Linked DNA regions of Homo sapiens: all the other regions are linked to region 3. Evidence: promoter capture Hi-C in 16 types of primary human blood cells and fetal thymus (Javierre and others, 2016). All regions are on one chromosome and are shown on one strand. Each heading gives the region's core, a stretch centred on a gene start or on the middle of the fragment in contact. The rest is flanking DNA. Distances are from core to core; before and after follow the strand shown.

Evidence for each region. Contacts are between HindIII fragments. The CHiCAGO score rates a contact against its expected background, and 5 or more counts as called.
Region 1: a contact is called between a fragment that was not itself captured here and the fragment with the promoter of PPBP in region 3, in 1 of 17 cell types (neutrophils). The highest score is 7.4, in neutrophils.
Region 2: a contact is called between a fragment that was not itself captured here and the fragment with the promoter of PPBP in region 3, in 2 of 17 cell types (neutrophils and monocytes). The highest score is 7.9, in neutrophils.
Region 4: a fragment that was not itself captured here is called in contact with the fragment with the promoter of PPBP in region 3 in 1 of 17 cell types (neutrophils); the score reaches 6.1 in neutrophils.
Region 5: a fragment that was not itself captured here is called in contact with the fragment with the promoter of PPBP in region 3 in 4 of 17 cell types (monocytes, M1 macrophages, neutrophils and 1 more); the score reaches 5.9 in monocytes.
Region 6: a fragment that was not itself captured here is called in contact with the fragment with the promoter of PPBP in region 3 in 2 of 17 cell types (endothelial precursors and M1 macrophages); the score reaches 5.7 in endothelial precursors.
Region 7: a fragment that was not itself captured here is called in contact with the fragment with the promoter of PPBP in region 3 in 4 of 17 cell types (neutrophils, megakaryocytes, monocytes and 1 more); the score reaches 10.9 in neutrophils.

Annotation. Positions count from the first base shown.
Region 1 is chr4:73,603,622-73,606,431 of GRCh38, forward strand. All of the region lies in intron 2 of RASSF6 (Ras association domain family member 6), which reads right to left. Among named protein-coding and RNA genes, the nearest start is that of RASSF6, 15 kb to the right of the region's middle. The HindIII fragment of the contact is 9,023 bases long and covers 1-2,810 here.
Region 2 is chr4:73,641,981-73,644,680 of GRCh38, forward strand. No RefSeq gene overlaps it. Among named protein-coding and RNA genes, the nearest start is that of RASSF6, 23 kb to the left of the region's middle. The HindIII fragment of the contact is 5,364 bases long and covers 1-2,700 here.
Region 3 is chr4:73,986,860-73,989,567 of GRCh38, forward strand. PPBP (pro-platelet basic protein) reads right to left here and starts at 1,331. Exons shown (of 3, transcript NM_002704.3): 1 at 1,097-1,331; 2 at 658-793; 3 at 1-515. The coding sequence starts at 1,244. The coding sequence ends at 413. The HindIII fragment of the contact is 3,234 bases long and covers 1-2,708 here.
Region 4 is chr4:73,563,916-73,566,706 of GRCh38, forward strand. No RefSeq gene overlaps it. Among named protein-coding and RNA genes, the nearest start is that of RASSF6, 55 kb to the right of the region's middle. The HindIII fragment of the contact is 8,717 bases long and covers 1-2,791 here.
Region 5 is chr4:73,685,141-73,687,887 of GRCh38, forward strand. No RefSeq gene overlaps it. Among named protein-coding and RNA genes, the nearest start is that of UMLILO, 24 kb to the right of the region's middle. The HindIII fragment of the contact is 2,192 bases long and covers 157-2,348 here.
Region 6 is chr4:73,580,158-73,582,857 of GRCh38, forward strand. RASSF6 (Ras association domain family member 6) reads right to left here. Exons shown (of 11, transcript NM_177532.5): 7 at 2,032-2,133; 8 at 1,660-1,711. Among named protein-coding and RNA genes, the nearest start is that of RASSF6, 39 kb to the right of the region's middle. The HindIII fragment of the contact is 765 bases long and covers 884-1,648 here.
Region 7 is chr4:73,665,456-73,668,209 of GRCh38, forward strand. No RefSeq gene overlaps it. Among named protein-coding and RNA genes, the nearest start is that of UMLILO, 44 kb to the right of the region's middle. The HindIII fragment of the contact is 4,697 bases long and covers 1-2,754 here.

The DNA.
Region 1 (2,810 bases), core at 1-2,500, 380 kb before region 3:
TGCTCAGCCTATGGGAATTACCCGCATTCTGACGTTTGCCATGAATAATGTACTTAGCATGAAATGAGTTCCTCAATCTTATCAGGTATTTGGCTGGCTGGAAGAAACTTTTTATTTAATTTTATAAAACTGTAATATACATGAATGTGGGATAGGATTATGGGTGGAAGTGAATTATGTCTGATATCCATAGATAGAGTGGATGTCAAATATTAGTTGTACTAAGAGATTTTTTTCCTCTTGTTTTAATAATGACTTACAGCATAATTAAGTGGCCATCCTAGTCCTTCCCTAAAAGGCAAAGAACCCTGTCCTAGTCTTTACAAAGTGATTCTTACAGTTTGAACCCACTAAGGACAAAGCATAAATATTGTCATATGCCGTCACCCTACACAAACTTGAAAGACTTCCGTGTGATACAAATGAACCTCAGGGGAAAATACACTCAACGAGGTTGCCAAAGGCATGTTTATCCCCTGGCTGTGCTTCCTGAGTTTGTATTACTTCTGCTTCTTGGAGACTTGCTGAAAAATGTTCATGGTTCCAATTAAGCAGCCACTGAGCTGCTTAGTGACAACAACATTAAGAACAACATTTCATCCCAGCACTTTGGGAGGCCGAGGTGGGCGGATCACGAGGTCAGGAGATGGAGACCATCCTGGCTAACATGGTGAAACCCCATCTCTACTAAAAAATAGAAAAAAATAGCCAGGTGTGGTGGCCGGCGCCTGTAGTCCCAGCTACTCGTGAGTCTAGGCAGAAGAATGGCGTGAACCCGGGAGGTGGAGGTTGCAGTGAGTGGAGATCACACCACTGCACTCCAGCCTGAGCGACAGTGAGACTCTGTCTCAAAAAAACAAAACAAAACAAAACAAAACAAAGCAAAACAACCATTCCACTGTGTGTGTTGCCATGTTTAAGAGCAGGAACCAAGAATATTTGAAACAGACTTCAGCAGGTGAAAAACTGAGGAAGAAAAGGATAGTGCTAATTAGTTCTCTTGCACAGGTTTTCTTTTTCCCACTGATTTTGTTCACGATATTAAATTTTAGCAGTGAAGCTATTTAACAATTTCATATGTCAGGTTCAAAAAGCTGAATTTAGAACTTTATAGTTTTATAAAATAACTACAAAATATTAAAGTTAAACATATTAAACATTACATTAAATATGTAAAGGTAACAAATTATTTGCTGGGAATTAAGGTTGTGATTTTTATTTCCTATGTTATAATTCTATATACCTTATAAATCATTTTCTTTCTTTTTTTTTTTTTTTGTTTTTTGAGATGGAGTTTCGCTCTTATTGCCCAGGCTGGAGTGCAATGGTGTGATCTCATCTCATTGCAACCTCCACCTCCTGGGTTCAAGTGATTCTCTTGCCTCAGCCTCCCGAGTAGCTGGGATTATAGGCAGCTGCCACCAGGCCAGGCTAATTTTCGTATTTTCAGTAGAGATGGGGTTTCACCATGTTGGCCAGGCTGGTCTCAAACTCCTGACCTCAGATGATCCACCTGCCTCAGCCTCCCAAAGTGCTGGGATTACAGGTGTGAGCCACCATGCCCGGCCTATAAATTCTATATAAGAAACGTGTGATACTTTCATGATATTTTTTAGGTTCATAAAAATGTAATATACACTCTTGTATGTTTTTGGAAAGATGGAATCAGGAAATATGAGGACGCAGAAGAGAACTGAATAAAGCCTTGTCATCAAGCTATTTGCCAAGATAAATCATCATTCCATATTAATGATGTCTGTAATAGAAGCAGAATTCTCCAAACCCATTTTATCCTTTATTCCTGTCCATTTGAATCCTGGAATTAAAATTACAAGTTTTGGCTCCTCTTTCATAAACAGCCATGGCTCCAGGTCTTTTCGCTTTTGGCCTCATCTGGTTCAAATGATGAAGAAAGAATGCTTTTCAATCTTTGCATAGAGACCCTCCTCAGCTAGGAAAGTAGGTTATTCGCATTTCCTTTGCAAATGAAGGGACTGAGTTCCAAAGTCTGGAAACTGAGAAATTTGTGGAGAAGTAGTCTATCTCGATTGAAGCAAAAATGCAAACCCTGAATGATCAGAAAGCTCTGAATTCTGTCTCACTCTTCCAACTTCAAATACCTGAGGATTTTTCCCTTTTTTCTGCAGCCTCGCCAACATATGTTATTTTTTGACTTTTTTATAAAAGCCATTCTGTCTGGTGTGAGATGGTGTCTCACTGTGGTTTTGACTTGCATTTCTCTGATTAGTGATGATGAGCATTTTTTCATGTTTGTTGGCTGCTTGTATGTCTTCTTTTGAGAAGTGTCTGCCCATGTCTTTTGGTCACTTATACACTGTTGGTGGGAATGTAAATTAGTCTAGTCACTGTGGAAAGCAGTTTGGAGATTTTTCAAAAATCTAAAAGTTGAACTACCTTTCAACCCAACAATCCCTTTACTGGATATAGACCCAAAGGAAAATAAAACATTCTACCAAAAAGACATACACACCCCTGTGTTTATCACAACACTATTCACAATAGCAAAGACATGGAATCCACCCAGGTGCCCATCTGTGCTGGATTGGATAAAAACAATGTGGTACATAGACACCATGGAATACTCTGTAGCCATAAAAAAGAGCAAAATCATGTCCTTTGCAGCAATATGGATGCAGCCGGAGGCTATTATCCTAAGTGAACTAATAGAGAAACAGAAAATCAAATATTGTATATTCTCACTTATAAGTGAGAGTTTAACACCGGGTACACATGGACACAAAGATGGGAACAATGAGCACTGGGGACCACTAGATGCAAGAGAGAGGGAA
Region 2 (2,700 bases), core at 140-2,639, 340 kb before region 3:
TATTGAATTGAGATATGTTCCTTCTATGTTCAGTTTTTTGAGGGTTTTATCACGAGGGATGTTGAATTTTATCAAATGCTTTCCCAGTATCATTTGAAATGGTCATATAGTATTTGTCTTTCATTCTGTTGACATGATGTATCATTTCGATTGATTTGTGTATGTTAAACTATCATTGTATCTCTGGAAAAAACCCACTTGGCCATCATGAATGATCTTTTAAATGCATTGTTGAATTCAGTTTGCTAGTATTTTGTTGAGGATATCCTGCATCAATATTCAACAAAGATATTGGCCTGTAGTTTTCTCTCTCTCTCTCTCTGTGTGTGTGTGTGAGTGTGTGTGTGTGTGTTTGGTTTTGGTATCAGAGTAATACTGGCCTCATAGAATGAGTTTGGAAGTATTCCCTCCTGCTCAACTTTTCAGAGTAATTAAAGTAGGATTGGTATTATTTCTTTAAATGTTGGAATTAAACAGGGAGGCCTTTGAGTTTTGGGCTTTTCTTTGCTGGGAAACTTTATTATGGCTTTGATCTCATTGTTTGTTATTGGTCTGTTCAGGTTTTGGATTTCTTCATTGTTCAAACTTGTTAGATTTTATGTACCTAGAAATTTATTTATTTATTTTTAAGATTTTTCTAATTTATTGGCATGTAGTTGCTCATAATAGCCACTAATGATTCTTTAAATTTCTGCAGCATCAGTTGTAATATCTCCTTTTTTAATCTCTTATTTTATTCATTTGGGTCTTCCATCTTTTTTTCTTAGTATGGTTAAAGATTCGTTAATTTCATTTATGTATTCAAAAACCCAACTTTTTGTTCCATTAATTTTTTGTATTTTTTCATTTAAAATTTATTTCCACTCTGATCTTTATTATTTCTGTTCTGCTAGTTTGGGGTTTGATTTGCTCCTGTTTTTGTAGTTCTTTAAGATGTATTGTTAGGTTATTTATTTGAAGTTTTTCTTGTTTTTTGCTGTAGGCACTCATAGCTATAAACTTCCCTCTTAGTATTACTTTTTCTGTATCCCATTAGTTTTGTTACATTGTGTTTCCATTGTCATTTGTTTCAAGACATTTTTAAATTTCCTCCTTAATCTCTTCATTGACCCACTGGTTATTCAGGAGCATATCATTTAATTTCTGTGTGTTTGTACAGTTCCCAAAATTGCTCATTTGTTTTTGTTTCTAGGGTTTGTTTCCACTGTTGTCAGAGAAGATGATGAATATCACTTCAAGATTTTTTAATGTTTTAAGACTTGTTTTGTGACTTAACATATGGTCTATTGTTGAGTATAATCCACGTGTTGAGGAAAAGAATGTATATTCTGTAGCCATTGGATGAAATGCTCTGTAAATATCTATTAGGTCTATTTGGTTTATAGTGCAGATTAAGTCAGATGTTTCTTTATTGATTTACTGTCTGGAAGATTATTCCAGTGCTCAAAGTAGAGCGTTGAAGTATCCACCTATTATTTTATTGTGATCGGTCTCTCTCATTAGCTCTATTAATATTTGCTTCCTATATCTGGGTGCTACAGTGGTGGGTGCACATGTATCTACAATTGTTATATCCCGTTGCTGAATTGACTCCTTTATCATTATATAGTGATTTTTGGCTCTTAGAGTTTTTGTCTTGAAACATATATATATATCAAATATATATATATATAAACATCAAATATATATATATATATAAACTAATAGAAGAGAAATAATAAAGATCAGAGTGGAAATAAATTTTAAATGAAAAAAATACAAAAAATTAATGGCAGAAAAAGTTGTTTTTTTGAATAAATAAACACAATTAACGAATCATTAGACAGACTAAGAAAAAAAGAAAGAAGACCCAAATCAAAAAAAAAGTGGATTTCTCTCTCTATATATATTTCATATATATTTATACATATATATGTATGTATAGCTACTCCTCTTTTTTGGTTTTCATTGATGTGGAATATCTTTTTCCATCCTTTTGTTTTCAGTCTATTTGTATCTTTATAGTTTGTGTTTGTTGCAGACAACAAATCATTGGGTCGTACTTTTCTATCCATTCATCCACTCTATGTCTTTTGATTGGAGAGTTTAGTCTATTTACATTCAATGTTATTACGGATAAGTAAGGTATTACTCTTATAATTTTCTTGTTCATTTTCTGATGGTGTTACGGTCTCTTCTTCTTTCTTTCTTTCCTTCCTGTCTTCCTTTTACTGAAGGTAATTTTCCCAGTGGTATAATTTAATTTCTTGCTTTTTATTTTTTGTGTATCTGCTATATGTTTTTTTGATTCAAGGTTACCATGAGGCTTGCAAATACTATCTTATTTCCTATTATTTTAAGCTGATAACAGCTTTATAGTACTTGTGTAAACGATTTATCAAAGATGCAAGAAGTAAACTAAGAAAAACTCTACACTTTAATTTCATCACCTGATTTAAAAAATTTTATTGTTTCAGTGATCTTTGTACTGTTTCTGTCTTAAAAAGTTTTTGTAGTTATTATTTTTTATTAGTTCATCTTTTAGTCTTTCTACTTAAGAGTGGTTTACACGCCACAGTTACAGTGTTATGATAGTCTAAGTTTTTCCCTATACTTACTATTGCCAGTGAGTTTTATACCTTAGGGTGATGTTTTTCTTCCTAATTAACATCTTTTTCTTTCTGATTGCAGTAGTCTCTTTAGCATTTCTTGTAGGACAGG
Region 3 (2,708 bases), core at 81-2,580:
ATGTATTGAGCAAATATTCTCTGTTGGGCTCCATGTAATTCCTATTATCATTGACCATTATGAAATCTAATAATACCCATGAGTATGTCTAATAACCATAAAGTAGACCAGGAAAAATCAACCAAGTTGTGTTAGAATAGAAATTTTTAAAGAAAAAAATGCAAAGTACAGTCCAATGTTTAGGCAAGAATTAGAGGGTTGAAACCAGGCTTATTTATTTTCATCTTCTTTCTGCCATCTTTTAACCAACCTTCTCAGAATAAAATGTGATTTTTGAGACAGAATGAAACACATATCCAAATTTTAATACAGTAAGAATAGGTATCCTGAATAAATGAGAACTCTAGAAAATCAAGGTTTCAAAATTCTACCCTTCCTGGGAGTTAAAGAAGTTTGGCAGAAACAGAACAAATTAATCAGCAGATTCATCACCTGCCAATTTTTTCTGTACAATTTTCTTGATTCTGGGAGCATCTGGGTCCAGGCAGATTTTCCTCCCATCCTTCAGTGTGGCTCTGCAAAAGAGAACAGGGTTATCTGTGGGTGTCCTGATCTGAATATCAGAACTAATCCATGAGACTGGAGGAAACGAGTGCATATGTGGATGGAGGTAGAGGGTTTCTCTGATAAGGCAATAGCACAGAAACAGCAACTTACATCACTTCGACTTGGTTGCAATGGGTTCCTTTCCCGATCACTTCCAAACTTTGGATGTTTTTGGGATGAATTCCAGAGGTTGTCTTTATACACATGCAGCGGAGTTCAGCATACAAGTCACTGTCTAGACTTTCCTCTAGGGTAGAAAATGTGACCTATTGGTGGTCATGAATATTTTCCTCAGGTCTCTTATTTGCAGATTGAGGGCAATTGTACCTCTCTCATAAAGCCATTGTGAATATGATCTGTAACGCTTTAGTAAAGTGCCCAGAAGATTGCCCAGCACACAAGAAGTGAGAAGTGACCCCCCTGTGTGTCTCCTCCAATTGGAGTTATTGGTATAATGGCCCTCTCCAGCCCCAAAGGCACCAAGCTAGTCTTTACCCCAGAGACAGGTGTAGCAGAAGCAGCAACAAGTGCAGAGAAGCAGGGCCTCTACCTTTGCCTTTCGCCAAGTTTCTCTTAGTTTGTCCTTTGGTGGAGGAAGCCAGAGCAGTCAGCAGCAATGACAGAAGCAGCAGCACCTGCAAGGCATGAAGTGGTCTCGCACTGTTACAGGAAGGGGTGGTATCAAGTCTGAGGCTCATGGTGGAGAAGGCTGAGCTAGAGTTGTTTCCAGAACCAGAAGACCTCTGAGTGAGGGTGAGTTGCTGCCTACAAGTCTGCAGATAAGTGGCTTCTCATGCCCTGAAGATGTCATTTATATGCTCTTTCTCAAAGCCAGTAAGAAGGAAGAGGTAGGAAAGGAGGAAGTGAGGGTATGTGGTGATACACACATAAGCATTTGAAGCTGTGCCCAACCCAGAGAAAGACCAGACAGGTCAAATTCCTACTAACTTGCTTAATGTGCATCACTTCACATTCCCACTCTCCCTTTCTCAATACTTATCTTCCTTACACCTGTGTAAGAACTCCGTTCAGGAAGGTAAGAACTAGACTGAAATACTACATGCATTTTCTTTGTATGATTTATAACAATACGCCCTGCCTTTTCTATACTGCAGTTTTTAGGCTTAATAGAAACTTTAGGAGCACCTGAAGGCACAAACATGTGGCCCTTGAAAGAGAAAGTTATCTTTGCTTGCCAAAGAAAGCAAATGTTCTTTTCATGAATGTTGATAAATATTGGGATTGGTTTGGAGCATGTAAGTAAAATAAGAGCCAATTACCGTCAAAGGTTGTCTTTGGATTTTAGCTTATTGGATTCTTTCTGCCTTCAATCTATATTATCTTTTGTAATTTCATCTAGAAACTACAAATGAAACTCATCCTCCTTTATATTACAAAAGAAGCTACTTGTTTCTACCACCTAAGAATACCTAAAAAGTAGGACCCAGCATATTTATTTTTCTTTTTATTTTTAATTTAACAGAAAAATTATATAATTTATTGCAAAAGATTCGTATGCTGCAGATGTCTTTGAAATAAAACACAAATTTCTCTTCATCATTTCTCCACATTCCTACTATTCAGTGGTAAACACTGGTAACAATTTTGCATTAGTTTTCAATTCTGTCTGCACTTATATGCACACATGTATATGTATACAATGAGACACGTTTAAGACATAGAGGTACACATATACATAGAAGTATTGTATATGGATCACTATACAGCTGACTTTTATCCTTCAAAAAATATGTGTTCCTTATCTTTTCAGGTCATCTTAATGTAGTTTTCCCCCATTCTTCTTAATGACCATGTGACGTCCTGTGATAAGAACAATAGTTACTCAACCTTGCCTTGTTGGTGCCCTTCACGGTGTTTCCAATTTTGCACTATTAGAAATTGTGCAAGAAATGTCCTTACCAAGGAAAATATTTGTTCCTGAATTCTCAGACCCAAATTAAAGGTTTTGGTCTGAAATGCTATATCCCTACAAAGATAGAGAGGTGGACCTACACATTACATGTTGGCTTTATGTTATTTTCTGGTTCTCTGTCCCATCTGTAAGACTTCCTTCCTCAATTGAACCATGCACTTTTGTAGGGAGTGGCATGTCCTGTGTTTGTTTGAATGTCTCATGTATCCTATAACATGTAGGATACTTC
Region 4 (2,791 bases), core at 244-2,743, 420 kb before region 3:
ACTTTACTGAATTTGTTTATCAGTTTTGATAGTTTTTTGGTGGAATCTTTAGGTTTTTCCAAATATTAGATTATATCATTTGAAAGATGGATAATTTGATTTCTTCCTTTCCAAATTGGATGTCCTTTATTTCTTTCTCTTGTCTGATTGCTCTAGCTAGGACTTCCAGTACTATGTTGAATAACAGTGGTAAAATGAGCATCCTTGTTTCGTTCCACATCTTAGGGGAAAGGCTTTAAGTTTTTCTCCATTCAGTATGATCCTAGCTGTGGATCTGTCATATATGGCTTTTTATTATGTTGAGGTAAGTTCCTTCTACATCCAGTTTTTGGAGGGTTTTTATCATGAAGGGATGTTGAATTTTATCAAATGCTCTTTCAGTATCAATTGAAAAGATCTTTGGTTTTTGTTCTTCATTCTGTTGATATGAAGTATCACATTGATTGATTTGCATATGTTGAATCATCCTTGCATCTCTGTAATAAATCCCACTTGGTCATGATAAGTGATCTCTTTAATGTGTTGATGAATTTCATTTGCTAGTATTTTGTTGAGGATCTTTATATCAATATTCATCAGGGATATTGGCCTGTAGTGTTGTGGGTTTTTTTTTTTTTAATATCTTGTCTGGTTTTGGTATCAGGGTAATAATGGCCCCATAGAATGAGTTTCAAAGTATGCCCTCCTCCTTTATTTTTCAGAATAGTTTGAGTAGGATTGGTGTTAGTTATTTAAATGTTTGGGAAATTTCACAGCACAGCCATTGGGTCCCAGGCTTTTCTTTGCTGCAAGACTTTTATTACAGCTTTGGTCTTACTACTTGCTATTGGTTTGCTCAGGTTTTGGATTTCTTTATGGTTCAACTTTGGTAGATTGTATATATCTGGGAATTTATCCATTTCTTCTAGATTTTCCAAGTTACTAGGATATAGTTTCTCCAAGTAGCCATCTATGACCCTTTGAATTTCTGTGGTATTGGTTTTAATGTCTCCTTTTTCATCTCTGATTTTATTTATTTTGGTCATCTCTCTCTTTTTATTAATTAGTCTGGGTAAAGGTTTGTCAATTTTATCTATCTTTTAAAAACACAAACTTTGTTTAATTCATCTTTTGTATTGTTTTCTTAGTTTTAATTTTATTTATTTCTCCTCTAATTTTTATTATTTCTTTTCTTTCCTAATTTTGGGTTTGGTTGCTCCTGTTTTTTTAATTCTTAAAATGCATTGTTAGGTTATTTATTGGAAATTTTTTTTCTTTTTTTGATGTAGGTGCTTATATCTATAAATATCACTCTTAGTCCTGCTTTCACTGCCTTCCCACAGGTTTTTGTATGTCGCATTTCCATTATCACTTGTTTCAAGAAATTTTTCAGCTTCCTTCTTAATTTCTTCATTGACCCACTGGTCATTCAGGAATATGTTAATTTCCATGTGCTTGTACAGTTTTCAAAATTACTCTGTTATTGATTTCTAGTTTTATTCTATTGTTATCAGAGAAGTTGCTTGATATTATTTCAATTTTTTGCATATTTTCAGACTTGTTTTGTGACCTAACACATGGTCTGTCTTGAGGATGATTATATGCTGAGCAGGAGGTGTATTCTAGCTATGCCAACTAGCTATGCCAGCTCTTTTATGCTTTTCATTGGCATGGAATATATTTTCCATCCCTTTATTTTGAATGTAAATGTGCCTTTACAGGTGAAGTGTGTTTTTTGTAGGGAACAGATCATTCAGATCATTGCATCTTGTTTTTTTTTTTTTTTTTTTTTTACATGCGTTCAGCCACACTATGTCTTTTGATTGGAGAGTTTAGTCCATTTACATTCAACGTTTTTTTTTTTTTTGATAAGTAAGGACTTAACCCTTGTCATTTCGTTGTTTGTTTTCCAGCCCTTTTGCGGTGTTCTCTTCTTCCTTTTCTTCCATCCTGCATCCTGTCTTTTTTTTAGTGAAGATGATTTTCTCTGGTAGTATGATTAAATTTCTTGTTTTTTATTTTTTCATGTATCCATTGTATGATTTTTGATTTGAGATTCCATGTTGCTTGCAAACTGTATCTTTTAACCTATTATTTTAAACTTATGACAACTTAACTACTGATTGCATAAGCAAACAAAAAGAAAACTAATAAAATCTCTATACTTTAATTGTATTCCCTCACTTTTAAACTTTTTGTTGTTTTCCTTTATGTCTTATTGTACTATGTCTTGAAAATTTATTGTAGTTATTATTTTTGATTGGTTCATCTTTTAGTCTCTCTAGTTAAGAGTAGTTTACATACCACAATAATAGTGTTATGATATTCTATCTTTTTCTATGTACATACTATCACCAGTGAGTTTTGTACCTTCAGAAGATTTTTAATGTTGATTAATATCCTTTGTTTTCTGGTTGTAGAACTCCCTTTAGCATTTCTTGTAGGAGAGTTGTGACGCTAATAAAATCTCTCAGCTTTTGTCTGTTTGGGAAAGTGTTTAATTTTTCTTGATGTTTGAAGGATATTATTACTAGATATACTATTCTAGGGTAACAGTATTTTCCTTCAGCATTTTAAATATGTAATGCCACTCACTCCTGGCCTGTAGGATTTCCACTGAAAAATCTGCTGCCAGATAGAGCTTCATTGCATGTTATTTGTTTCTTTTATCTTGCTGCTTTTAGAATCCTTTCGTTATCCTTGACCTTTGGGAGTTCGATTATTAAATCTTTTGAGGTAGTCTTCTTTGGGTTAAATCTGCCTGGTGTTCTATAACCTTCTTGTACATGGATATTGATATCTTTCTCTAGGT
Region 5 (2,747 bases), core at 3-2,502, 300 kb before region 3:
CATGTCCTCCTCTGACTATCTTTATGGGGACTGAAATGAGGCACTTTTCAAAAAAGGTAAGCAATAATTGGCCCATATCTCCTTTCTTATGCAATCCTCATTTATCTTTGAGATGTTATCACACTTGATATATTCCCATTCCAGTTGTCATATTAAAGCTTCTTAGTCGATGAACTTCTAGATTCACTTAGATTTAGGAGCCAGGAAAAGAAAATATTTATTCTAATATGTTGACATTTACCACTCTGATATTTATATTTCAGTAAGTATAACTTGAATGATTTATTTAAAGTATTTTCTAAAACCATAAAGTAACACTGAAGACAGATCATGAATGATGTATTTTCTATTATGTACTCAGTTGCCAACTGAATTTTAATTTTCAGAGGAATGCTATCTTAAATTACTAGATAATATTTATGTCAGTAACTATATTTTTTTTATTTTTTTATTGTGGAACACATAGGAAATAGCAAAGATAGTACAGAGGAGTACAGTGTACCTTTAATCTGGTAACAGGCACTATTTTAAAAATCTGAATATAACACGCCCAACACAGGATAACCCAGATTCATAAAGCAAGTTCTAAGAGACCTACAAAAAGATTTAGAATCCCACACGATAATGGTGGGAGACTTCAACAGTCCACTGATAATATTAGACAGATCATTGAGGTGAAAAATTAACAGATATTTGGACCTGAACTCAACATTAAAATAAATCTGATCGTAGAGAATTATATTTTCAGACCTCTACAGAACTCTCCACCCCAAAACAAGAGAATATACATTCTTCTCATTGCTATATGGCACACACTCTATTAATTGACTAGCAGTCAGACATAAAACAATCCTCAGCAATGCAAAAGAACCAAAATCACACAAACACACTCTTGGACCACAGTGCAATAAATATAGAAGTCAAAACTTTAAAAATTGCTCAAAACCATACAATTACATGGAAATAAAACAACCTGCTTCTGAGTGACTTTTGAGTAAATAATGAAATTAAGGCAAAAATCAAGACTTTTTTGAAACTAATGAGAACAAAAATACAACATAGTGGAATCTCTGGGATACAGCTGAAAGAGTGTTAACAGGGAAATGTATAGCACTAAACACCAACAACAAAAGGGAATATTTCAAATTAACAACCTAATATTACAACTGAAAGCATCAGAGAAGCAAGAGCAAACCAACCCCAAAGCTAGCAGAAGATTAGAGATAACCAAAATCCAAGCTGAGCTGAAGGAAATAAAGACATGGAAAACCATTCAAAAGATCAGTGAGCCCAGAGTAGTTTTTCTGAAAAAATTGATGAGATAGATAGGCTGCTAGCTAAACTAATAAAGAAGAAAAGAGAAGATTGAAATAAACACAATTAGAAACAACAAAGGAAATGTTACCACTCACCACACAGAAATAAAAATAACCATCAGAAACTACTATGAACACCTCTAAGCACACAAACTAGAAAACCTTAAAAAGATGGATAAATTCCTGGACAATATAACCTCCAAAAACTAAACCAGGAAGAATTTGATTACCTGAACACACCAAAAATGAGATCTGAAATTGAACAAATAATAAATACCCTACCAACCCCCCAAAAAGCCCAGGATCAGATGGATTTAGAGCTAAATTTTACCATATGTACAAAGAAGATCTGGTGTCATTTCTACTGAAACTAATTTTAAAAATTGAGAAGGAGGGACTCCTCCCAACTCATTCAATGAGGCCGGCATCATTCTGATACCAAAACCTGGCAGAGACACAACAAAAACAGAAAACTTCAGGCCAATATTCTTGATGAATATTAATGCAAAAATCCTTAACAAACTACTTGCAAACCAAATCCAGCAGTGCATCAAAAAGTTAATCCACAATGATCAAGTAGGCTTTTTCCCTGGAATGCAAGATTGGTTCAACATACACAAATAAATAAATGTAATCCATCGCATAAGTATAACTAAAGACAAAAACCACATGATTACCTCAATAGATGCAGAAAAGGCTTTTGATAAAATTCAATGTCTTTTTATGTTAAGAACTCTCAGTAAACTAGGTATTGAAGGGACAAACATCAAAATAATAAGTCATCTATGGCAAACCCACAGCTAACATCATACTGAATGCGGAAAAGTTGGAAACATTCCCCTTGAAAACTGATACAAGACAAGGATGTCTTCTCTCACCACTCCTATTCAACATAGTATTGGAAGTCCAGGCCAGAACAATCAGGCAAGAGAAAGAAATAAAGGCATCCAAATAGGAATAAAGAAAGTCAAACTGTCCCTATTTGCAGATGACATGGTTCCATATATAGAAAGCCCTGTAGTCTTGGCCCAAAGCTTCTTCAGCTGATAAACAACTTCAGCAAAGTTTTAGGATACAAAATCAGCATACAAAAATCTCTGGCATTCTTATACACTAATGACAGCCAAACTGAGAGCCAGATCAGGAATGCAATTCCATTCACAATTGCCACAAAATAAATAAACAAATAAATAACCTAGAAATGTGGCTAACCAGGGAGGTGAAAGGACTCTACAATGAGAATTACAAAACACTGCTCAAAGGAATGAGATAACACAAACAAATGGAAAAACATTCCACGCTAATGGATAAGAAGAATGTATATCATTAAAATGGCCATATTACCCAAAGCAATTTACAGAGTCAATGTGATTTCTATCAAACTACCATTGATATTCTTGACAGAACTAGAAAAAACATTTTAAAATTTAT
Region 6 (2,700 bases), core at 16-2,515, 410 kb before region 3:
TGATGATTTCCAATTTCATCCATGTCCCTACAAAGGACATGAACTCATCATTTTTTATGGATGCATAGTATTCCATGGTGTATATGTGCCACATTTTCTTAATCCAGTCTATCATTGTTGGACATTTGGGTTGCTTCCAAGTCTTTGCTATTGTGAATAATGCCGCAATAAACATACGTGTGCATGTGTCTTTATAGCAGCATGATTTATAGTCCTTTGGGTATATACCCAGTAATGGGATGGCTGGGTCAAATGGTATTTCTAGTTCTAGATCCCTGAGGAATCGCCACACTGACTTCCACAATGGTTGAACTAGTTTACAGTCCCACAAACAGTGTAAAAGTGTTCCTATTTCTCCACATCCTCTCCAGTACCTGTTGTTTCCTGACTTTTTAATGATTGCCATTCTAACTGGTGTGAGATGGTATCTCATTGTGGTTTTGATTTGCATTTCTCTGATGGCCAGTGATGGTGAGCATTTTTTCATGTGTTTTTTGGCTGCATAAATGTCTTCTTTTGAGAAGTGTCTATTCATGTCCTTTGCCCACTTTTTGATGGGGTTGTTTGTTTTTTTCTTGTAAATTTGTTTGAGTTCATTGTAGATTCTGGATATTAGCTCTTTGTCAGATGAGTAGGTTGCGAAAATTTCCTCCCATTTTGTAGGTTGCCTGTTCACTCTGATGGTAGTTTCTTTTGCTGTGCAGAAGCTCTTTAGTTTAATGAGATCCCATTTGTCAATTTTGGCTTTTGTTGCCATTGCTTTTGGTGTTTTAGACATGAAGTCCTTGCCCATGCCTATGTCCTGAATGGTAATGCCTAGGTTTTCTTCTAGGGTTTTTATGGTTTTAGGTCTAACGTTTAAGTCTTTAATTATAGATCTTTAAGCTTTCAATTATAAGAACTTTAATTTTATATATGTTTAGAGATACAGCTTTCATTTTCTTAAGGTGTTCTGGCATCAAAATGTATTATTTTATTCTAATAAATTTCTGGCTTGAACATTCTGACACTTAAATTATAGCATGAGTTTTTTCTACAAATTGATATATAAAATTTTTCATTTGTGAAGTTTTAAAAACTTTCATTTCAGTATCACTTTAAGTTTTCTCTATTCTCTCTATTATGCTCCTAGCATCCCACTTACAGCGCCTTCCCAATGTTCTGCTTCTAACCTTTCACCCCTCACCACGAAGTTCTGAATATGCATCTCTACTGAGGAAGAGATAGCACTCCCGCAATGTGTCAGACCCTGTGCTAAAAAAGAGGCAATATCAATGTCAGAGAGAACAGGTATGCAATCATGACTCCTCTAAGAGCAACACTCAGAAAGGAAAGCCAAAAAGAAAGTTACAGAGGTGAGCAAAGACAAAAGTGCCGAAACAGTTCCAGAGGGTTTTGATCTCCATTTAGATAATTTAATGTCTGGCCAACAAGCAAACTCTTTCATATAATCAACCCTTCAGGGATACCTTATTCTTAAGTTATCTTTCTTTAAAATTGTGGACTATAGATAATGTTCTAAAGACCACTCCTTCCTTTTCTCCTACCCATTCCTCCCCTTTCTCCACAGAATGAGGCAAACTGTTCTTCTGCCTTCCCCCTGGGCAGCAAACTGTAGCACTCTAGAGTCAGGTAAAAAGTGTGATCAAGCTTTCTTACCTCCTGTTGCAAAAATAATGTGAAGAGCAAAATCCTGGGGACTATTTTCAATCTGTCAAGGGAAAAAATGAACAAATATAAATTCTTTGTTGTTATATGATGTTTTCTAACCTGACCAGACCCAAATCATGTCTGTTTTCTCTCTTCCATTTTTCACTTTTAGACATAAAATCTTCTCTGCTCTTATGGGAATTATATAATTTTTCAAGGGATAGTTACTAAAAGGTGTTATACAAAGGAAAGAATCTTTCAGTGCTCAACATCCAATTTAGATTTACACCTTTATAGATCTGTTTCAGAAGAGTGGATTTGTGTGTTTATAGTTGAATTATATATAATATATTTATAGCTCAGTTAAGTGATAAAGGTTACCTTAAATTTTTGGAGAAGTTGCTTTATTACTTCTTCAGTTCTCATGTTACTGTTTACTCTGACCTTAGTTTCTGATTCAAAGGCTGGAATGAAAATTGATGTCTAGAAAAAGAATTGTCACATAAGTCTTTAAAATTATATTATATTAAGGGTATTCAATATCTTGAACATAATCTTCTTATAGGGCAAAAAAAATCCAAGGTCATTAATTTAAAAAATTTGTTTTGTTTTTGTTTGTTTTTCTTTGTTGTTTTTGAATATTATGTGTTCTTTTAAGCAGCTTTATATTGTTTCTAGAGTAAATTAGGTAAAACACCATTTGAGGATGCTTATAACATTTTCACTGGACAATTACACCCCTCTTTAGTGCAGTTTAAGATTTCAAAATAAGTAAGAAAGAATGTCACCAGATGCATATTTAAAAACGGATAGAGATATTAAGTAAGGATTTATTTCCACATATTTTATTTATATGCACAATCTCCAAGTATTCCAAGGCTCTGTAGAAATGGGGTGGGTTCAGCAGATGTAGAGATGGGTGGGTTTTGGGGTGGCTCATTGGACTGTTAAAAAGATAAGTCCTATATTGAGAGATCAGTAAATTAACATCAAAGTATACAGACACAAACATTTATAACACCCACACATGTAACACGCACACACACACAC
Region 7 (2,754 bases), core at 29-2,528, 320 kb before region 3:
TGTAGGGACCAGCCCCACAGGGTCGGTGGGTTTTTCTCCCCATGTGTGGAGATGAGAGATTGTAGAAATAAAGACACAAGACAAAGAGATAAAAGAAAAGGCAGCTGGGCCCAGGGCACCACTACCACCAAGACATGGAGACCGGTAGTGGCCCCAAATGCCAGGCTGTGCTGATATTTATTGGATACAAGACATAGGGGTAGGGTAAGGAGTGTGAGCCATCTCCAATGATAGGTAAGGTCACGTGGGTCACGTGTCCACTGGACAGGGGGCCCTTCCCTGTTTGGCAGCTGAGGCGGAGAGAGGAGACAGCTTACACCATTATTTCTGCATATCAGAGACTTTTAGTACTTTAACCAATTTTGCTACTGCTATCTAAAAGGCAGAGCCAGGTGCACAGGATGGAACATGACAGCAGACTAGGAGCATGACCACTGAAGCACAGCATCACAGGGAGACAGGCCTCCGGATAACTGTGGGTGGGCCTGACTGATGTCAGGCCCTCCTCAAGAGGTGGAGAAGTAGAGTCTTCTCTAAACTCCCCCAGGGAAAGGGAGACTCCCTTTCCTGGTCTGCTAAGTAGCGGGTGTTTTTCCTTGGCACTGACGCTACCACTAGACCATGGTCCACTTGGCAACAGGCGTCTTCCCAGATGCTGGCGTTACCGCTAGACCAAGGAGCCCTCTAGTGGCCCTGTCTGGACTTGACAGAGGGCTCACACTCTTGTCTTCTGGTCACTTCTCACCATGTCTCCTCAGCTCCTATCTCTGTATGGCCTGGCTTTTCCTAGGTTATGATTGTAGAGCGAGGATTATTATAATATTGGAATAAAGCGTAATTGCTACAAACTAATGATTAATGATATTCATGTATAATCATGTCTATGATCTAGATCTAGTATAACTCTTGTTGTTTTATATATTTTATTATATTGGAACAGCTCGTGCCCTCGGTCTCTTGCCTTGGCACCTGATTGGCTTGCCACCCACATCTGCCCCCTTTTTATTAACTAGGATCGCCATCACCATCATTGCTTGTCGTTGACTTTGGACTTGTTTCCGGACTCCTTGGAGGCATCTGCAGACTAAAAGAGACAACATAAGCATACCAGTATTAATAATGCCAGTGACAACAATGATTCTCCAAGGGGTTTGATCCATTTAAAGGGATTAAGATCAGATAATTCTTTAGTTATTCCTTCAAAAATGTCTGAGCCAGGAACAGTGGATAAATGAGCCTGTGAAGCCTCAAAAATTTGTTCTTTAAGTTTTGAAATATCCAAGGTTAAGTTATCATCCCAGGCTTTTAAATGTCTTGAGAACTTTTCCCAGCTATGCTGATCTTTATTATAAGCATAAGGCATTATGCAGTAATCAGAAGTATTCCAATCACACTGTAATTGCATACGGTGTTCCAAATTCATAACTCTATTTCCCAATCATATCACACGTTGGCAGAGATCATTAATTTGATTAGCTAATTTTTGATCAATTTGAGCCTTAGAATTCCAAAGTCTGGAGGAGTTTTTTTGCCATGCTTCAACACATTGAGTGGTTTGAACGGAATTGTGAATCATAACTCCAGCAGTTGCCACTGTTGCAGTAACCGCAATTAGACCTGCAATGACTGCAATAAGAGTAAAAATAAATCTCTTTGTTCTTTTGAGGATACCTTTAAGAACTTCATTGACTATGTATATAGAGGGGGAAGACTCCCACGGATGATGTAAAGAAACTGGTATCCATACCCCCTCCCTAGCACTTACCAAGAGAATACTTGTTGTGGGATTAAAAGTAGCATCAATGCACGTGAACAGCTTACAATTATCACATTCTATAGTTTGTGTACTGGGAATGATAATTATATTTCTAACTAACAGCAGGTGAGTGGTTTTGACACAACTCCTGATGGGTATTACCTGTTTAGATATCAAGGTGATGTTGAATGTGGGTGTTTTGGTATTAGTGTGAAGGAGTTGATAAGTAGTGTTCCATATCCTTATTCCTGTTATAGCTGCAGCTAATTTCCATAATTCAGGATGTTCTGGGGTAACAATGGGATGAATCATTTTTGGTCTAGGAGGAACAATGCCTGCGTCCATCCATTTAAATGGGTAAGGAGACACCTATTGTCTCAACCTGTATGACTGCCATCCATCCTTTATATAATCTAACAAATAATTATACTCCGAGCATGAGGTATTTTTGCTGGAGCAATCCTGCGAATAATGCTCTTTTGGAGCCCAATCAATAACAGTTCCCATGGCTAGACTTTGCAGCACAATGGCCTTGGGAGCATTACAATCATTCCATAAAATTGAATTCAGTAGAAAAGTTCCCTTTGTAGGTTTCTTTGGGCAGTCTGGCAGTCCTTTTGTTTTATTGCTGTTAGTAGTGACAGGAGCCCTCAATTCCTCAAGAGGCTTAAGTTTAACAGTGAGAAGTTGAAAAGAATTGCTACTGAACACATTATGTACTTGATAAGAATCATTTGTTAAGGATGGTACGGTCCACATCCAATTCTGGTAAGAATAAGCTAAACAGCCAGGTGATACACAGTGGTGGGTATTTATAGCCAAATGACAGATTAAAGTGCATACCTTCTTCTTCCGGTTGAGCTGGAAACCTATCATCATTAGGGACCGGCATGAATGCACTATTATTAGTGTAAACTTCTACTGAGGAGTCCATCCAGGAGACAGACCAAATTAAAGGGGGAAAAGGAACATATGCCCAGTGGGTATAATTTTGAGTT